Regions from separate parts of the Homo sapiens genome. Here all the other regions are linked to region 5. The links are contacts of gene promoters, found by promoter capture Hi-C in blood cells and fetal thymus (Javierre and others, 2016). All regions are on one chromosome and are shown on one strand. The core of a region is centred on a gene start or on the middle of the fragment in contact, and the rest is flanking DNA. Distances in the headings are between cores, read along the strand shown.

Region 1 (2,720 bases), core at 46-2,545, 540 kb before region 5:
CAGTCAGGGGGCCCTGGTCTCTGCACACAAGGGTTTTATCTAGGCTGAGCTGGGGGAAAGTGAGGTCTCTCCACACCCACCTCTCTCCGTCTCCACGTGTCAAGGCAGCTATAATAGTGCCTGGGCTTGGAGCATCTGGCTCTTAGGCCTGATGTCTAAGATACTACTTAAGTTCTCCAGTGATTTCTTTTTCTATTGTTGATTTTCTCATATATAAACTGGAGAATAATAATATCTGATTCATATGAAGAAGCTTTGTAACATATTAAATATCAAATAGATGTCAGTTATAATTATCAAGAGGGACAACTTAGAAACCACTAACAAAGATGATTTTCTTCTTGGAAGCAGAATGTTTGCAGAATGAGATCTCTCCAGTAACTCTCCACTTTTCCATCTGCTGATAAAGGACTTCAGTGTAGTGTACCCGAATTTCACATTAATTGTTGCTTTAGCAAGGGATGTAATTACTCTGAGTACTTTTTAGCTACAAATCTTGAAATTCATGCCATTTGGTGAACGTATGCCTTGCTGCCTCTCCAACTATTAATTCTTGTACAGTCTCGCCTTTAGGACCAAAAGACAAATAGTAAAGTAAAGCTCATGCTTGGCTATTTAGAGCAGAGCAGCCTCCCTTAGGCTTCGGCAGACAAGGTACAACCACTGATGTTATCCTGCCGGGTAGGCAAGAAGTAAGAAAAGCGAGTCGCAGAGCAGAAGCGCCAAATCCTCAGAGTCGAGGAGAATCTAGGTCAAAGATCTCCTGCCAACCTTATTCACAGTTCTCATTTCAGGGTTCCTTCCCTCTAAACCTCCATGCGGGCCCTCCGTAAAGGAGAAAGCGAGTTTTCTCGGTGGGGTGAGAAGATCTCTATTTGTGTGAAACTAAAAGAACCTATTTCCACAATGTTATGGCTAAAACATACACTCAGTTTTTCCCATTAATTAGGCTTTATGGATGTTATATATTAGAGATTTGACATAATAAAGGCAAGAGAATTCCAAGACATTATTTCCATTGGATGGCTTCACCTAGGCAAGACCCATGACCTAAAAGTTTGATGAATAGAATGAACCATTATTCAAGGTTGGGTTTTCAAACTAAAACCATATTTTGGCCTTTGCTGTGCCCCACATGCCTGGCAGTGACTCCAGGCACACGTTTCATCTTCATTTGGTTGCCTGGAAGAATGCAATGGGCTAGTTGCTCTAATGTCGGGAAAAAAAGGTTTTATCACCATGCACAGCTTTCTATGCATTGTCCCATAGAAAAACTATCCTCAATTACAAGCTACAGTTTTAATAAAGCACTATCAAAAAGACGGCACAGAGTTTCGGTTGCCACGGCTCCAGCCCTGACTGGTTCTAATTTCCTGTCTGCTCAAAATAAGATTTTATTAATCTGTTATTTTAGATACTTGGATTGTCATAATTCTTGCCATTATAGTGCCAAAAAATAAGAAGATATGAAAATAGTACATCTGATAATTACAAATGTATAAAAATATATATGCAAAAGGGCCAGTATATGTTAGCCTATGTAAGTATTATCAAACAGCTACTAGAAGTGAATATATCCAAATGTTAACAAGACTTATGTCAGGATTGTGATATTATGATTAATTTGAGTTTTTCTCTTTATAATTTTAAAATTATCTAAACAGAATATTATAAAAATGGATAGCTCTTAGAAAATAACAGGAAACATACTTTATAAAACATGGGGTTCCAGACTTTTCTTTAGTATTTTCAGGTATGAACCTAGGAGAGATTGGAGAGCCCAAAGTGTGGACAAGTTGCTGATAAAAATAAGGCACCTAGATTTTCAGTCTGATATGCATAAAAACACTTTCCTACTGTACAAGCTGTTTCTGTCTAGTGGGCTTGACAGATGCCTGAACGTGACACAAGACACTGAAATAACATGCAAATCAGTTTTCGGTTTTAATATGCAAATATGACGCTTGGCACATCACTTTCCATGGCGAGGTAAATTTCTGTTTTTGAGTTTTTCGTGGGAAATGCAAACCAGCAAACAAATGGTTAACTCCCCATCTTTCACCTAACACAAGGTGGTTTTCATTTGAGTCAGAGCGGTTCTGGCTCAGCAATCCAAGACACTTAGGATGCAAAGAAAGGGCATGTGTTTTGTTCAATAACAATGCCACCCTAGGCAAGCAATCCTACCTTCTGACAGACACACCGATCACACTGAATTTTTGGGCCTCAGCAGGGAGGCAGACAAAGTGCCTAAGTGAAAATAACAAGAACATGTTTTTTTGCTTGACCAGTGAAAATCAAATCAAAGTATCTCAACATGGTAAGAAGATAAGCTTATAGCCAAAGAAGAGAAAAAAGTCAAGGGTCCTTGTTTCTAGAGTACACGAGCAGTGTAGCAAACTATAGCCTCCTATGAAATCTATATTAAATTATCCACAAATAATAGTAATTAATTAGGCATTAAAGCAGTCATCAAAATGAGTGAGATGCAACCAGTTCATAGAATTTATAATCCAGTCAGGAAATCAAGGTATATGAAGGAGAAATAAAAGAACAAAGCAAAAAATTGAACGTTGATAGTAATCAGTATGCCTTAGATATATAGGTTCTAGGGTCTGCTTACTTGGGTTCAAATCCCACATCCACAGCTTACCAATTGTATGATCCAGTGCAGGATGCTGAATTTTACTACCTATTAGTTATTTCAAAAATAAAATGGG
Region 2 (2,700 bases), core at 33-2,532, 810 kb before region 5:
CAACACTGGCAGAGCAGGTGAAAAAGAAAGAAAAAAAGAGAAGAAAAAACGGAGGACCACAGGTTTAGACTTAGGGAAATGTCCAAAGTTATAAGGTAGAGAAGGAAAAAGCTACGAAGTTTTTAGAGAAGGCCAGGATGCAGGTATAGGAGAACCAGAGTAACGTTAAATTTCAAGAGGTACTAGAGGTAAAATTGTCAAAAATATGCAATGCTGCAGAGCGGTACAAGACAATGGGACTGAAGAAAAGGTCACGTAGTGAATAACTATGCTGTTTTTGCAATCTGCTGGTAATTTCTCAGAGGAAATTATCAGGGGTTTGAATTATTGAGAGAAATGTTTTTCTCTGAAGGCAATCTGAAGGATCTATGAAGTTGAGCAATGGTGTAATTAAACTGCAATGTCTAGTTTGCCTAAATAGCCTACGTTGAAAAAACCTTCAGGGCTTCCGGTTTCCATGCTCAGAGCAGGGACTGGTTGTATCGGCTAAGCTTTCACCGGGGAAAACCCAGAGCAATGAAGGTGACGCACATTTCATATGCCAAGGAAAATAGGATTCAAAACCAAGGTATAGGCTGAGCTGAAAATGAGCTTCACAAAGCCTTAGCTAAACTCACAGGTGAGAGATTCTTAATGAATGACTGTAGGGAATCTAGATATCTAGGAGCTACACTCCTAATTTGGTTGTTGCAGTCAGGGAGACAAACCAGGCTCTTCCGCAAAATGCCCTCCATCGCCTCTGTCAGAGACGCAGTGCCAGGATGAATTAGCTTTGCGTTCGTTCCCAGGAAGAGGAACGAACAATGAGCCAGAAGACCAACTTCTAATTTCAGCACCTCTGTTTACCAGATGTGTGATGGTCAGACAAGATATTTCCTCTCTCTGAATCTCTATTTCCTTATCTACAAAGTGGATAGTATAATAATACTTTCCCGCACAAGGTTGGTGTGGGAATCTAGTAAGACACTGGCCTTAAAAATTATTTAGAATTCTTTGTTATACCAATATTCAGTATAGTAGATGTGTTTTTGTTATTGGTAAAGACAAAATGTCAAAATAGGCCTTAAAGTTTGCAAACCCAACCCACATGATTCAGTCCTTTTCCATTTTTTTCTGACCCTTAGGATTCATTAATCCTGGTGTAAGTATCTGCTGGGATGCAGACTTTCTTTTGCAGTCTTTCATTATCTGTTTGTTGAATAACTGTTATGTTATTCATAACATAACATTGTTCTAAGCACTAGAAATATGAAGGGAACAACAACAGTAACAAATAAAAATAATAATAAATACCCAGCATTCCTTAAGCACTTTCTATGTTCCAGATTTGACATATACCAACTCATTTAATCTTTTTTACATCACTATGAGGTAGGTATATTTATTATCTTCATATCAGAGGTGAGAAAACTAAGACTTGAAGAAGTTCAATAATTCACCCAAAGCCAGATGGTGGATAAGCAGAAAAGCCAGGAACTAGGACTGGCCCAGGTCGCCTGGCCCCAAATCCTGCACATTTCACCATTGTGCTATGCTCCTACAATAGTCATGGTCCCTACACTCGCGGAGCTCACACAGTAACTGAGGATACACACAGGTCAGCAGCCAAATACAATAACTGCCTCCAAGGAGGAATTCCTGGAGGGGCAACCGCTCTCAGAGAAAAGAATTCTGTAAGTCTATTGATCAGCACTTGGAAACCAGGCTCTGATAGACAAGGCAGTACCTCCCTCTAACCACATGCCTTGAATCTGAATATTTGCCTCTGAAATATATACAGCCTTTTAGTTCTAACCATAATACAACCTCTTCCATGTATGCAATACGTCACGACCTATTTATAAGGTATGTTACATCCATGGTCTCATTTGCTCCTCCCAGCAGTGATGTGAGATGGGTGGGCTTGGGACTATTATCCCCATTTTATACATGAGGAAAGTAAGGCCCTGAGAAACAAGGTCACTTGTCCTGTTATTAACTTAGTAAGTGGCTGGTTATCAGATTCATGTCCAGCCTTCACTCCCATATTTGCCCTCAAGAGCATATCATCTATCATCTCAGTTTAAAGCTTTGACAGCGTGAATTACTTCTCTGGTCAAACCTGCAGATATTTCAGAAGAGGTTCCAGAGTGGAGTTTTGAAGTTCTGCTTTCCACAAATGTATACTTTTTTTTTTTAGGTAAAGCTACTTTGCAGTGTCTTTTGTCGCTTACATCTAAGTTCTTTCAGGCTCAAAGTTTAGAGAATTTTGTACCCTCAGGATTACTTAGCCATTGACTTGGATCACCTCTGACCTTGTCTAAGGTGATCATCTAATGTGATGATTTTGGTCATTTTAAAACATTGCTAGCCACAGTTCATATCATTTAAGGAGGCCTGGCACAGGCAGAGAACACGGGTACCGGAAATGTACCATTCCTATTTCCAGGGCAAGGAGAGCCTGGCACAGGCAGAGAACATGGGTATCGGAAATGTACCATTCTTATTTCCAGGGCAAGGAGAGCCCTCCAAGCAGATTTTTCCATGAGCCTGAACTTGAGAACAGCATTAGGATATGAAATTGATTTCCAAGCATCATGAAAAAACGTCTCCAGAGACTCTGAACACATTCCTACTTGCTGAGTATAGCCGAGATAATTTTAAATTCTAGAGTGCAGTTTTATTTCTACCTTGTATCTCTTTTTTTTTCTTCCTCACCAA
Region 3 (2,874 bases), core at 329-2,828, 580 kb before region 5:
TCTCAAAACAAAACAAAACAAAACAAAAAAAACAAAAAAATAAAAGATTAGACAAAAATGACCAATGCCAAGGAAAATTATAGCTCAGCTTCTAATAACTTACCAGCTCAAGTGCTCCATCAAAAAGATCAAGCTTCCTTGGGAATCAGCAAACATGCCCCAGATAATCCAGGAGCTTCATGTGGTTGTTAAATCCGAATGATCTTTCCCACAGTGGAAATACCAGCACCAAAAAAAAAGGTGGAGTGAAATCTCAAACTTTCCTTTACCCCAAGATTAGAATCTATGCAAAGGGTAGGGCCTCTTAAAAAATAGACTTATTTAGGTCCCCGCCATGCATGTTCCCAGGACCAGGATTGTTATGTCTAGAAGATCACTGAAAATGTATCAGAAGAGCACTGTCACAGGCAGCGTAATGCCTCCCAAAGAGGACCATGTCCAAATGCTTGAAACCTATGAACATGCTACTGTATATGACAAAACGGACTTTGCAGATAGGATTAAGTTAAGAGTTTTGAGATAGGAAGAGTATGTGAGGTTATTCAGGTGGGTCATATCTAATCAAGTAGGTCCTTACCAATTGGAGAACTTTTCCCAGCTGGGGCCAGACACAGAATGACTATGAAAAAAATGGTCAGAGGTGCTATGTTACAGGCTTTGAGGATGGAAAAAGAGGGCCACAAGTCAAGGAATGTGGTCAGTTTTTAGAAGTCAGAAAAAGCAAGGGGGATTCTCCCCTAGAAAGAACCTTCAGAGACAAATGCAGCTTTGCTAACATGATGGTTTTAGCCAGATGAGACTCATGTTGAACATCTAACCTACAGAACTGTCAGATCACAGATTGTGTTGTTTTAAGGCCTAAGTTTAGAGGTATCATAAACACTTATTGACACAACCCCTTTTAGTTGATAAAATTTCTCCTCCTATCATGTCGATCCAGTTTGAGAATGACAAAGGGAAGAAAGGGCTTAATGTATTTGAACAAAGGTTAAATATGATAAATTCACTCATACTTCCTTACCAGATTCCCAGAATATTTTCCTATTAGTGTTTCTCCACTTACAAGTGAGTACCAAGATATCTCCAACCTTGGGATAATTCACTCAATTCATAACTACCAAACACTGTAAATACGTGGTACAAAAAGGAAATAAGGTTTCCAGAGTTAATGGAGAAAAGTGTTAGCCTGGGCACTGGCACTTGGTGGCTGTGGCTTACACTCCTGTTTCAATCTGGGCACCATTTGCTTCATCAAAATAAATAAATAATGAAGTCAGAATTAGGAGATGATTTCCAAGGTCCTTTCCATGGTAAACACATACAACCTCTTAAGTAAGCATCAGGATCTTGAAATATTTTCTCCTTGAAGGTGGGACCAGCACAAACAATGCACATATGCACATACGCACAATGATTTTCTAAAGATCTACTAATTTCTTAGAAAGTTGAAAGTAATCTTTAAATCTATATGTGTGTATATATGTACTTTTAAAACATCATGGCCATTTTTTAGTTGAATCTGGTGGATTATTCACATAATAGTATTCTTTTTTTGGAGACAGGGTCTGGCTCTGTTGCCCAAGCTGGAGTGCAGTGGCATGGTCACAGCTCACTGCAGCCACCAAAAATTCCTGAACTTAAGTGATCCTCCTCCCACCTCCACGTCCAGATTAGCTGGAACCACAGCATATGCCATCATGCCCATCCATTTTTTTTTTTTTTCACTTTTTGTACAGACAGGGTCTTACTATGTTGCCCAGGCTGGTCTTGAACTCCCAGGGCTCAAGCAATCCTCCCACCTTGGCCTCCCAAAGGGCTGGGATTATAAGCGTGAGCCACTGTGCCTGGCCACATAGTGTTCTTACAGTATTGCTGATGTGTGAAAATCTAAACACACACAAAACACACCAAAAATATAGCTGGCTTGATTTGCATTTCTGCATACCTAGGCACTTCCTGTTTTGAACTGAAAGAGAACAAAAGAGAGCAATATCATGTTTCTTATCCCACAAGCACTTTAAATCTATTCCCATTAAATTTCCAGCCCCATTATTCCCTATTAAGTGGCTTTATAAGGTTATCCAAGTGGTATACAGCAGTAGAAATGGTTATCCCTTCAGTTTTACATAAATCACTAATCTGATGTTACCCATTGTTTGACAATAGTCAACAATTTCCCATTTTGCACAGGTAAACATCCAAAACATCCTTCCTATGACTATCACACAAGATCTTTTATCACTGAACTCCAGACTCTCTATCCTTCCTTGTCCCACTACTTGTCCCTCAACTCAATGTGGCTTCAGCCACAGAGAAGTTCTGTTAGGAAGTAACATCTTCCTGTTCCCAGAATACCATGTTTTCCTACCTCTATACCTTTGTACATGCTGTTTCTTCTGTATCTAACATCTTTCTTCTCTTTCTCTACTTGGAAACATTTTATTCCTTCATGAAGACATCAGATATCACCTCTTAATCTCCCTAGGGAGGTTTTTCCTAGAGCTCTCAAACATTCCCTCTCATAATCATAGGTACAGAGCTCCTTTATAACATTTATCACATGGGAAAAGGGATTATCATATATTTTTTATTCTCTAACCTATAATGGTCTATGGACTTCTTGGGGGCAGAGACCTCTAAATTTGTTCATGGTACATTTTTTTTTTTTTCAGAAAGCACTTATAGTAATTCTAATTCACCCCACCTAAGACAGAGATGGACATATCATAGGCTCTGCATAAATATTTACTTAAACCAAATAACCTTATAATCTACTGTGTCATTAGTAGACATACCAACTCACTAGAGAAGGGAGATCACATAAAATCTGGAAGATAATTTGCTTGCTGGGTTTCACCATCTCTGTTATTTGTT
Region 4 (2,950 bases), core at 441-2,940, 990 kb before region 5:
ATAATAGCATTAGCATTTGCAGAAGTACTGTGGAAAAGGCACAACTCTCTAGAAATGATTCTTGGTGTTACATTCAGCCCAGCTTTGGAAACCTCTAAGAACCAAACACCTCTTCCTAAATCATGCCAAAACTCATCTTTTAAATGAGATGCATATTGCTTTCATTTAATTACTTTTTTATTTATTAGCATTTATTTAGTATGTAAACTGTGGATAGCTCAGGGTAAGCAGTGAAGATACAAGAATATATAAAACATGGTCTCTGCCCTCAAGGAACTTGTAGTGTGTTGAGGAGATGCATCCACAGCAATTATAATATGGGGGATCAGTGCTCTAACATGGGTATGTACAAGATACAACAGACAGAGTGGGAAGGCGTCTTGAGTCCCTGACACTCTGTACAGGGCATTGCAGGTCCTTGCCTTCCTGGAAAAGTCTACTCCCAACAACATTTGTTTTTTTGAGAATCCATTATGATGTCTCATACGTCTAACCTTGACACTGGCTACTCTCTTTAAATGGAATATCTGCCTGGAAAATTCCTAGTAATTGTCTAAGTCTTCCTCAGATCCCTCAGAGAGACTTACGGGCGCCTTCTCTTCCTAACTGTGACCTAACTGAAGGTGGAGGTCACATCTTTATCCTTTGGCCACCAGCATTTAACTCACTGCCCAACATGAAACTGATCTTTAGTCACGGCAATGCATAAACAAAGCTTTAATACATTCATCATGCAACCAACACTGCCTGGTTTTTCAGTACAGGGAAAACCAGCTGATGTGATGAAGGGTCTCCTGTTCCACAAGCCACACAGATCAATGATAGTAAAGCTCTGACTATTACAGAAAAAGGTTTTAATATTATCCAGATTGTCTCCCTTTTTAACTACTACCAATTTTAGCCTGGCTTTCTCTTAGAAAAATGCAAATAAAGATATGCATATTCTCTTCAATATGGCAGCCATTCATATATATGAAGATATCAGACACATATAATATCAATATAAGATTCTCCTTTGTGATTTCTCAAGCACACACAGATAATTAAGTCATCATTAACGTACTTTCTGAAGTGTCTGACATGTGTTAATCACTTCTTAGCAGCTTGAGTGTCATAAATATGGTCCTGATACCTCCAATATCATCTCCACGCATATCTTTTAAGTTCAGATTTGCTTCATTGTTTTCAGTCCTGTGTTCTAGAAGTTCTAGATCATTTTAGATATTAATTTGCTGTTATTATTAATGTTATTGCTATTAATTTATTGAAAATGTGTGCCAAGCATGATACTAGCTGTTGACACACTTCTTTTTCAATTCTCATCTGATCTGAATCACAAACAACCCTATTGCTACCTTATAGGTGATGGAACTGAACTCTTAGAAACAGTAAGTCTCTGTTCAATGTTACTTCACTGTCAAGGGGTCAGAGACAAGCTGCAAGGTTAGGCCATTCTCTCTCCAATGCCAGAACTCTTTCTCCTTACTATATTACGCCATCTCTTTGTGTTAGTCTATGGTATTTGATTTTTGTTTTAGTTTGGCATGTTTTTTTTTTTTTTAGATGGAGTCTCCCTCTGTTGCCAGGCTGGAGTGCACTGGCACGATCTCAGCTCACTGCAACCTCCACCTCCTGGGTTCAAATGATTCTCCTGCCTCAGCCTCCTGAGTAGCTGGGATTACAGGCGCCTGCCACCACGCCCAGTTAATTTTTGTATTTTTAGTAGAGACGCGGTTTCACCATGTTGGCCAGGATGGTCTCAATCTCTTGACCTCATGATCTGCCCACCTCATCCTCCCAAAGTGCTGGGATTACAGGCTTGAGCCACCGCACCCGGCCGGTGTCATTTTTATACTTGGGTATTCCCTCTTCCAGATAATCTTTCAAGTAATTAACAAAAAATATTGAACAGAATAAAAGGCTTCTAGTCCTCACCAAAAACCTCCTTCTAGCTTACATGGAACAGTTAGCAAGGCTCAAGCGTCATTTTTATTCACCTGCCCGTGAAACCAGTGTGTAAGACATGACCCTGCCTATATTTCACCTGCTTATGTGCAATCACGTCACAAGAGGTCGTGTTAAGTCCACTGCTAAAACTTCCTCATCCTGCTGATTTACCAGTTGTGTGGCGTAATAAGAAAAGGAAATGGGGTGTGTCTAACACAACCTGTTTATGGTAAACTCCTATTAACTTCTAGTGATCAGTGTCTTTTCTTCAAAATACCCATGAATCAGTTGTGTAATGATCTGTTCCAAAATTTCAGCAAAAACCAGTAGGAAACTCATACTATTTCCTGGCTTCACTGTTTAGTCCTGTGATAAGATGCAAGTAATCCCCTTTATTAAAAGAGAAAATCCTGTGAATCTACCAAAATATTAGCTGTTTCCAGGGCTATTGAGAAACTCCCACACCTACACCCCCAGTTATATTTTAATGCTCAGTTTGACAGCAGAACCACCTGCCTCTTTGTTTCGAAATGTGAAGTCACATCACTATTTTATGTACTGTTTCCTCTTCATTGCCTATATGTCACCTGGAGGAGTATTTGGCTAAATATTCCTAAACCCACAATTAAAGGTTAAAAATACCTTGAAATTGCAGGAACAAATGGTTGCCTATAAGTTATGTGGATCTCTGAAGTCCACTTATAGGAAACAAAGCTTTCTTGCCACAACCATATTGAATCCAGGAGGATGTAGGTGATGTCTGCTTGTTCATCATTGTACTCCCAGTGTCAAGAGCATAGCAAGGGCTCAAGAAGTATTTGTTATAGTGAGCAAGGAGAAGACAATAATGAGAATATGTATACTCTTAACAGAGATAACTCAAAGTTTTAAAATCGTAGTAAAACATGTATGACTGACATGAGAATGTTTCCAGAAAGCAGATCTGGTCATTAGACTGTGGGAAGAGTTCCTGAAGATCCTAAAGTAGGAAGCTACACAGAGA
Region 5 (2,967 bases), core at 54-2,553:
GGAAAGGCAAGAGATTTAGTAAAAGGGGAAGGAATGGAAAGAGAAAGGGGACTGGAAACACAGTTAAGTGAGTTTGGTACTAGCAAAAGCCCCAGAGAAGACCCTGAGTTCTCGCTAGTTGTTTTGTGTTGGGGGAGGGAAAGCAGTGGATCCCTTCTAAGGGAAGGGAAGCCAGAGAGATTTTTCAGTTCTCCTACGACTCCGAGGTTCCAAAGACTCTGCCCTGTCCAAGCACCCAGGCACAATTCCACTGATTAGCTCATCTCATATCACAACCTCCCCCATCCCCAACCCCTTGCCTCCAACTAAAGAATATTTATACTTTCATCTCCATTTCCCACACTACTTAGTCTTCTCTGGCCCACGGTTCCCTCGAAGAGATGTCTTCCTCCAAGCCGCTAGCTGGCTTCAGGAAACTCCTCAACCTCCAAAAACCCCATTCAGTGCAGGACTCTCCAAAAGGCCGTCCCAGGGACCAGAAAATCAAACCCCCTCCCTGGAACTTCCTTTAACTTTGTCCACGCCTTTGCTCCAGCACTTAGCATTTTCTACCCTAGGCCAGGTTTGACTCCCAGGTTCAACTGAGTTCCTTGAGGGCAACGTCCAATACACCCAGCACAGGGTCTGCCACACACAGGGTGCTAGAGAAATGCTTAGAGAAAGGGAACTTAAGTCCGGAGCCAACTATTTGAATTATGGTCTGGCCTCTAGTAAATAACTTCCGGGCGACCCTCCTTCTCTCTGGGCCTCAGCTGCCCCAACTGTAAAATGGGAGGACTTGGAGGACTGGGTCTAGGCCCTTTCCGCTGTGACAACTGTGATTCCGCGAAAGCTCTAAGCGGATGGGCGTGGCCCCGCCCCCTGGGCGCCCAGAAAAGTCCGGGCAGGGGGCGCGCAAGGCTCCAACCCCGCCTAGCCTGGGGTCGACGCTTTTGGAAAAACTCTGGGTCCCCCTCCCCCATGGCGTGCACCCCGTGATTGGGCCGCGGCCGGCACTTCCGCACAGCGGGCCAGGCCAGAGCAGGGCGCGCGCCCTGCGCTCTTGCCACCCCGGAGGCGCTCGCGCCGGGGGAGGGCTGGGGGTTCCCGAGGCGCCCGCGGGTGGAGGGTGAGGGGAAGGAAGGATTTGCAACAATACCTCAGGGAGGAGGCAGCCGGGGCAGCGGCGGTGGTGGTGGCGGCGGCGGCGGCGGCGGCGGCGGCTGGAGGCGGAGGCAGAGGCAGAGGAGGAGGTGCCCGGGCACTCCCCCTCCCATTGTCCCCAGCCCCGGACAGGCCCGGCCCCGCGCCCCACACTGGCCTCCTCGAGCGCGCCGCCCGCGCCCAGCGCCCCACGCCCCGCGCCCCGGGCCGTGCAGCCAGCCCTTACCTTGCAGCGCCCGGCTGTCTCCCGATCGCTAAAGCTACTTATCCCGGGAAAGCTCGCGCGGGACCCGGGAACGAACCCACAGACAAAAAGTGAAACTTCGGCAGGGCTGGAGCGGCTGCTGGTTGGTGCCTTTCCCCCTCCTTCCTCCCCACCGTCCCCACCCCCTCCCCTTGGTCTCCCGTGCGGTGCCCTGAGCGCTGGAGGCTGACGTCAGGGGCCTGAATTCCTGACTTTGCCTGCACGCATTTGTCCATGTAAGGTATGGGAAGGCGTGTGCCCGCGAAGCCGCCGCGCAGAGCTCGCCTGGCGGGGGAGGGGAAACCCGCAGCCGGCAGTGGCTTTGCCAAAAGGTGGGCGCACTGAGGGCATTGCATTTCCTGGGAGGAAGAGGAGGAGACGCGGGAATGCAGGGAGCTTGCAAAGGAGGAAGAGAAAGAGGGAGATGTGGAGACTTTGCCCCTGCTAGAGGAAGAGGAAGGAGACGTAGGAGGAAGCGGCCGCGTCAGGGGGCTCCTGGAAAATGGAAAAGCCTGCGTCTACTATTAAGGCGTCAAATTAGGGCACTGAGCTTGAGTGGAAGAGATCCAGCCATGAAATCCCCTTCCAAGATTTTCCTCGTGAGCCCCGCCCTGGATTCCCAGCAAGACTCAAAACTTACAAGGTGTCAGAGCTGGCAAAGACCAACTTCCAACCCGTCCGCTTGGCACGTGAGGAAACTGAAGCTCTCGGAAGAGAAATGACTTGTACAGGGTCGTCACTCAGCAGATCGAGGAGCGGGCCCAGGCGCTCTGCCTCCCACTTGGGTTCCCGCCTCCAGGAAGGGCCCTGGCTCCCTTTTAGCCCTGAGCCTTGAAGCAGGTTAGATGCCCGCGAGCTGTGCGGACCACCCAGTGATTTCTACTGCTCTTGGCCCAGAGCCAGTTCCTGGAAGGTCCTGGTTGACAGCGAGCCCTGAATATCAATGACAATCAGTTGCTTCAGGGCAACTTCCTCTGTCCTGTGCTCAAATAAATGAATCCCTGGAGTTTAACGTTTACTTCTGAGCCCCGCCCAGAAAGCTTGCTCTGTGCTTATAGCTTCAAAAAAGTCTGCGAACGAGATGAACTGGTTTGAATACAGACAAGCCTGTCATTGGAAGTTTTGAGTTGGATTTTTCTTTCCCCTCTGACATCTGTAAGGGTGAACGACGATGAGAACCACCACTTAACTGTGTTAGGGGATTATGACGCGCAGCAGCCATGGCCAGGAAAGCATTCCATACCCTGAGACTTCCTTTCCTTGCACTTCTCTCCTATTAATATCTAAAGTAATCCCTCACGTTAGCACATAATGAAAGCAGTCTCTCACCCGGCTATTGCATCTTCAGGTGAGTTAGATAGGACAGAGCGTAGTCCCCCCTTTACACCTCAGACAAAAACTTAAGAAACGTTACTCGCCCAACACAAAACAACTGACTGACCAAGCACCTGTCTTCCCCTCCTCCCATCCAGGTCTCCTGACTAATCCCTTCATCTTTCCATACCTGGCCCTGACCTCTAGCAGGACCTAATTCCATTCATAACTGTTGAGAGTACACCATGAGCTACTGATTCATAAAA
Region 6 (2,868 bases), core at 326-2,825, 600 kb before region 5:
TAGAACCCGGTCGCTGGCTTTGAGGTCAGTGCTCTGACTCTCATCTCACATGCAAGTATAAAAGGAACATGACTCAGGATGTTTGGAGTGGAAGGCAAAATCTATAAAACAGTACAGAAGAGTCTTTCTTCTTGGAGATTCTACACATCCAGTTAGAATGTAAGATAATTGGGTCCAAACTCAAATTTTAGTTCCTTTTACAAAAGCCCTGATTGTAAAACCTCTGCAGCCAGCTCTCAGTGACAGGCAGATCCCAAGGCAGTCCTTTAATTTCTAGATCGCTTTGATGGCTAAAAGGTTCTTTCTCCTACTGAGCCATAGTGCTTCCTCATTCTAACTGCTTACCCCATGGTTCTAGTTCTGTCTTCTGAGACCTTATCTCTCTCTTGGACTTGACATCCTTTAATACATCAAAATTCAGTAAGCATTGCTTCCAAGTCTGTTATTCCTTTGAACATCCACACATCCTGCAATAGTTTCATATACTGTAGGGTTTTGAGTCTTTCAGGGCCACGGTTCTCGTTGTTCATGCAGTATTCTGCGAAGCTCCAGCATTCTTAAATTGATTAATGTGGCATCTGGCCTACATATGGACATCAGGTTTCAGTTTTTAAAATTTGCAGTAAGCTTTAAATAATAACAATAAAATATAAATTCAGACAAATAGTTATGTCAGTGAGAGGCATTATGCTGGTTGCCATCCATATCTCTATGTGGCTCCATCATGGGAATCTTGAGCTAGACGTCACGTCCACATCTAGTTTCCCTTCTTAGTCTTTGTTTCTACTAAGTTAAAAAAAATTCTATCTAATAATTATAGAACACTGGGAATGTTAGCCAGAAGCTGTAGGCTTTGATAGATAAGGTATAGCAAATGTAGTGCTTCACATATGTCAGACTTTTTCTAGGGGCTTTAGATATATTAACTCATTTCATATTCACAACAGTCTATATGCAGGTACTGTTATTATGCCTATTTCACAGATGAGGAAACTGAGTCACACAAATGGTTAACTAAATTCCAGCCTAAGCAGTCTAACTTCAGCATCTGTGCTCTTAAACACTATGCTATATTACCTATTCCCAGTTCTGTGCATCAGGATTAACATGGATCTGATGTTAGGGAGCATTATGGAGAGACTTCTCACTGAAGACGGCTTTCAGCACTCCATCACATTGGATTGACAGCCATTTCACACTCAAACATGGGAGGGCTAGATGTTTCAACGTGAGAGAAAAAAAGGTAAATTTATTTCTAATCCTCTCCAGTTGTATTTGGCCCTGAAAAGTATTTCTTTATATCCTGTTGTGGGATTTGAATGTGACTTTAAATATAACCCAAAGTATACATCTTAGTTTTTTTCCTAAGGAATAAGAAATATGAAGGCTGGGTGCAGTGGCTCATGTCTTCAATCCCAGCACTTTGGGAGGCCGAGGTGGGTGGATCACCTGAGGTCAGGAGTTCAAGACCAGCCTGGTCAACATGGTGAAACCCCATCTCTATGAAAAATACAAAAAATAGCTGGGCGTGGTGGTGTGTGCCTGTAACCACAGCTACTCAGGAGGCTGAGGCAGGAGAATCGCTTGAACCCGGGAGGCAGAGGTTGCAGTGAGCTGAGATGGCGCCACTGCACTCCAGCTGGGTGACAGAGCGAGACTTCATCTCAAACCAAAAAGAAATATGAAGTGCTGGAAAAAGAGTTAAAGTATTGGAAACTAAGCTGTCACCACTACAGTTGATATCATTATAAAGTCTTGATACCACAGTCTTGACATTTGATGAAAAAATTTTGTATAGTATTTGTTTGTGGCAGACTTCAAAAGTTTTTATCCAAGACTGAACTTGTACCTGTTTTTATTATGAGATAACATTTTGGACTTTCCTGCCAACAGTAACAAAACTATTTCATATGGCACTATTTTTGAAATTATTCTGAAAAAAAAAAAAAAAAAAAACCAAAAAAACAAAACCACAAAAAAAATGTGCTATGTTTGAAAATCATGCTTAAATTCTAACAGCTTCATGCCACCCTTTGACAACATTTCATTGCAGAAAACGAATTAGGGATTAGGAGTAAATGGATTACCAATCCATATGATTATTAAAAGCATATTAGATTCCTGTGAAAGCTGTAATTTTACATTTTACATTTGTTAAATGCAGGCAGGTCAACAAAATTCTTTTTCTATATTACTCTTCCCTTTTCTAGATGTCAAGCAGATTCACTACATAGTACACGAAGGGCTATCAGGGATCTGTGGACCACACTTCCCCCCGTCCCCTAAAAAAGTAGTTCTCATTAAACTATTGGTAATGGCAGTCTACTAAGCAGCTAAAAGTAGCAATTTTGATTCAGACTATGATGCCCGAAGTGTAATACCTGGAATCCAAGAACCTGAGCCTACATGGCTTATGGAGAGTTTGATAGCTACTCATGAGGATCTGGGAGCAAACTTCAATCACTGATTTAGAGGGAACGGCCAGAGCAAAGCCTTAAAGGTCAGGCTGAAAAGATAAGCTTTGAAATGGTCCATCTATTCAACCTCAAATATCTACTCTTGCCCACGACTATGTTCTCCTTCTGTGTGATATACAAAAATGAATTCGACGATGTCACGATGTCAGTGCCTCTCACAGTCAAGACAACCTACATGCAATAGTCACATGGCAAAGCATGTAACACGTCTTAGAAGAAAGTGCTATGGAATGTGGAAGGAAAACCACACTCACAGGGGCTCAGGAAAGGTTGTGTGGAGAAAGAAGCATTTGAGCCGAACCTTCAAGGATGGAATTTTGAAAGGTAAAGGTGGAAGAGGAAAAGACATTCTAGTTTTCCCTCACGGAGAGAATGAGTGACTATGGCTTGG
Region 7 (2,818 bases), core at 19-2,518, 890 kb before region 5:
CCAAAGAAAGAATTTTATGTTTATTAAAACTCAGGCACCATGAGGCCCTATGTTCAAGCCAATATTTTGTGGTTTAGATTCATCTTTCGGTTTGGATTCAATCTATATATAGTTTTCCTTCTATTTTTTGAACAGGGCCCATTTAATTGTGACCTTGTGAAACAAGGTGAAAGTAGAAAGGCCTTATAGTTAGCAGATCCCATAGTGTTCTCCTTTGCTTTACAAAATATTTGGAGAATAAACAATGGGTGAACAGTGTGGTCATTGTCTCTGGTTACAAACGGTGACAGGCACCGGGCTTACTCTAGCTTGTTTCAGCTGTCTCCTTTATGGAGGTCTTTGGGTTGAGACCAGGGTTTCCTTGACAGCTCTTCTGGTGAGCCACCACGCAACCTCCTGCTTGTAGCTCTTCCTTCCTATGGACCTCAGTTTCCTCATCCATAAAATAAGGTTCCTCCCAGCCTTAGCAGATTACATGTTGTTATATGATGATTTATCTCAATGCCTAAAGAAACTATTTAGCTTTCCATTGTGTAGCATACTTTTCTTCAAGCATGATTGAGTTCATTTTCATGAGGGATCATCAAGTATGCCTCAAGCAGCTGAGATACAATATAAAGAAGCAGTGAGAAGACCTGGGTTGGTGAGCCAACTCTGACCCCTGCTAGCCCAGAGATCCACACAACCTCTCCAGGACTCTATTTGTTCATCTGAAGATACAACGTCTTCCTCCTTCCTCTTCATTCAAAAAGTATTTCTTGAAAATCCATAATTAACCAGGATTGGCATGAGATTTTTGAAACATAACAGATACCTAAGTAACCTATAAATTATTAAACATCTTATAGATAGAAAATGTTATCAATATTTTACTCACCTCTGACATAAAGCTTATTATACACCTAGCAGATCAGGATGACCCAAAGAGGGATAAAACACAAGGTAAGATACTAGAAAAATAAAATTAACCAAAAAAGCTGAAATTGGAAAAGAAATATATTCTTGATAGTTCAAAAAAGGACGTTAAGGTTGTCATTATAGCTAAAAGTTTATCTTTCTTTGACTTTTTAATACTTGTTTTATAATTTCAGATTTTTTTTTAATTTCTAAAATTGAGGATATTTTCATTGTTCAATGTTTAGGGCTTCTTAAGGACCTAACCTTAAGAAGATAGGTCAATTCCCATCAACATGTGTTTACAGAGCTCCCCAATGATTCAGAAACAAGCTGCTAACATTGGCATTAACAATACAGAAGCATCCTAAGGCTGGAGGTAGGGAAGTTGATTTTCATATCAGAATCCAAATTATTGGGTGAGGCTCAAGCAATGGCCTGAGATGGTATTTTGAGAGCAAGAGAAGGCAGTGTCTAGTTGTATATTTTACGTTCAACATCCTAAGGAAATAAACAGTTCTGCAGCAACAGGGACAGCTCAGCATCTGAGTCTGAGGCCTTTGTGCATGGCAGTTTCAGAATCTGCTGGGGTTTTCCCCAACCCTTCGCCTCCACTTGAAAGCAGATCTAAGGGCAAGCTGGTCTCTCAAAAAGAAATCACATTCTCTCCTGCCACCAGAGGGCCCCATCACCAGGTAACATGGCAGAAAATTGCTGGCATCTGAGTAAAGGGCTAAGACTAGGAAGCTTGTTCCACCTCCCCACATGGGGTGAGAAGGGAAGCCATGAGTGCCTTGCCCATGCCCCATGTGCAGTTTTGCTTTGCTCCCTAATTAGAAACAATAATATCTCCCACACATTGAGTGCTTACTTAATCACAATAGTCCTGTGAAGTACGTGCTAAAGAGGCTCAGAGTTGTTAAATAATCTGCCCAAAGCATACAGCCAGAAAGGGAAGAGCCAGGATTTGAATCCGAGACTCTCTGATTTCAAAGTTCAGATTCTTAGTTGCAATACTATATTTTTCCTGTTACTTGAATAACTCAAGCAGCTTTTAGTTTATCATTTGGGACCTAGAGGTGAGTTTAAGGAATGCAATGACCATGCTACATGAGAATCCAGCTTATGAAATGATCCTCTTTCTAGGGGGAGGTGGGCTCCTTCCAACTTAGCAAGAAGGAAGCAAAGAATTGGGAGCAATAAGGAAAGAGGAAGTAGAGGAGCCTAGCGACATCCTAAAATGGCTGTGGCTCAGGGGTTCCCTGATTCTGTTTCCTTTCACCAAATCTAGAGCTGTGATGTTATCCAGGCTAAAGTGCAAAGGCACCCTGGTTCAAGATGCAGGTGCTCTCAGCCTAAAATGGAAACAGTCAGGGAAAGACCAGAAGACTGTGGAGGGGCGACCAGGGCTGAACAGGCTTGAGGAGCCTCTTGGGAAGTAAGTCAATCTAAGGAATAGCTGCCAAAGCCCAGGCAGAGATGCCTGAAAAGTGCCTCTGAGCAATAGAGGAAGAATGACACTGAGGACCACCCTTTGACTCATCTCGTGGCTCAGTCCCTAGGGACTTGTGCCCAAATCATGGGGAAAGAAAACAACCTGGATGGAATGTTTTACCCATCGTTTCTTTAAGACTTTGAGAGTAAGGGATCATACCACTGTGGGACCAGTGTAACAGACAATGGTACAAGGTTGGGAGAAAGGGGTTTTTTCCATTGCAGAAGATATGAGCAGAAGTAGCACCAGTATCAGGGGGCAAGAACAGCAGTACTCTTAATGGTGGACAGAATGGCATTGTGCTCCCACTGAGAGATGCCAAGAGCCTTAGCCACAGCAGGAAGCCAAGCAATGGCCTGAGGTGGTATTTTGAGAGCAAGAGAAGACAGAACCCTTGGTATAACTCTCTTGGCACCATCCATGGGGAAT

What was found. The method cuts DNA at HindIII sites, captures the fragments that hold promoters and counts their contacts. A CHiCAGO score of 5 or more calls a contact.
Region 1: a contact is called between a fragment that was not itself captured here and the fragment with the promoter of LPP-AS2 in region 5, in 1 of 17 cell types (neutrophils). The highest score is 8.5, in neutrophils.
Region 2: a fragment that was not itself captured here is called in contact with the fragment with the promoter of LPP-AS2 in region 5 in 1 of 17 cell types (erythroblasts); the score reaches 5.7 in erythroblasts.
Region 3: a fragment that was not itself captured here is called in contact with the fragment with the promoter of LPP-AS2 in region 5 in 2 of 17 cell types (naive B cells and total CD8 T cells); the score reaches 6.9 in naive B cells.
Region 4: a contact is called between a fragment that was not itself captured here and the fragment with the promoter of LPP-AS2 in region 5, in 5 of 17 cell types (activated CD4 T cells, neutrophils, total CD8 T cells and 2 more). The highest score is 7.9, in activated CD4 T cells.
Region 6: a fragment that was not itself captured here is called in contact with the fragment with the promoter of LPP-AS2 in region 5 in 2 of 17 cell types (neutrophils and activated CD4 T cells); the score reaches 6.4 in neutrophils.
Region 7: a fragment that was not itself captured here is called in contact with the fragment with the promoter of LPP-AS2 in region 5 in 1 of 17 cell types (fetal thymus); the score reaches 8.5 in fetal thymus.

What each region holds. Positions count from the first base shown.
Region 1 is chr3:188,696,622-188,699,341 of GRCh38, reverse strand. The region is part of intron 7 of LPP (LIM domain containing preferred translocation partner in lipoma); the gene reads right to left. Among named protein-coding and RNA genes, the nearest start is that of MIR28, 9.2 kb to the right of the region's middle. The HindIII fragment of the contact is 2,080 bases long and covers 256-2,335 here.
Region 2 is chr3:188,962,929-188,965,628 of GRCh38, reverse strand. No RefSeq gene overlaps it. Among named protein-coding and RNA genes, the nearest start is that of TPRG1-AS1, 17 kb to the right of the region's middle. The HindIII fragment of the contact is 1,577 bases long and covers 494-2,070 here.
Region 3 is chr3:188,728,671-188,731,544 of GRCh38, reverse strand. All of the region lies in intron 8 of LPP (LIM domain containing preferred translocation partner in lipoma), which reads right to left. Among named protein-coding and RNA genes, the nearest start is that of MIR28, 41 kb to the right of the region's middle. The HindIII fragment of the contact is 2,886 bases long and covers 136-2,874 here.
Region 4 is chr3:189,143,971-189,146,920 of GRCh38, reverse strand. It overlaps a transcript of TPRG1 not described here. Among named protein-coding and RNA genes, the nearest start is that of TPRG1, 27 kb to the left of the region's middle. The HindIII fragment of the contact is 1,946 bases long and covers 718-2,663 here.
Region 5 is chr3:188,152,424-188,155,390 of GRCh38, reverse strand. LPP-AS2 (LPP antisense RNA 2) reads left to right here and starts at 1,303. Exons shown (of 1, transcript NR_036497.1): 1 at 1,303-2,967. It overlaps LPP (LIM domain containing preferred translocation partner in lipoma), which reads right to left and starts at 1,234. Exons shown (of 12, transcript NM_001375462.1): 1 at 1,139-1,234. RefSeq lists a silencer at 1,027-1,366 and an enhancer at 1,799-2,699. The HindIII fragment of the contact is 6,292 bases long and covers 1-2,429 here.
Region 6 is chr3:188,756,978-188,759,845 of GRCh38, reverse strand. All of the region lies in intron 8 of LPP (LIM domain containing preferred translocation partner in lipoma), which reads right to left. Among named protein-coding and RNA genes, the nearest start is that of MIR28, 70 kb to the right of the region's middle. The HindIII fragment of the contact is 1,892 bases long and covers 630-2,521 here.
Region 7 is chr3:189,040,443-189,043,260 of GRCh38, reverse strand. It overlaps a transcript of TPRG1 not described here. Among named protein-coding and RNA genes, the nearest start is that of TPRG1-AS1, 94 kb to the right of the region's middle. The HindIII fragment of the contact is 751 bases long and covers 893-1,643 here.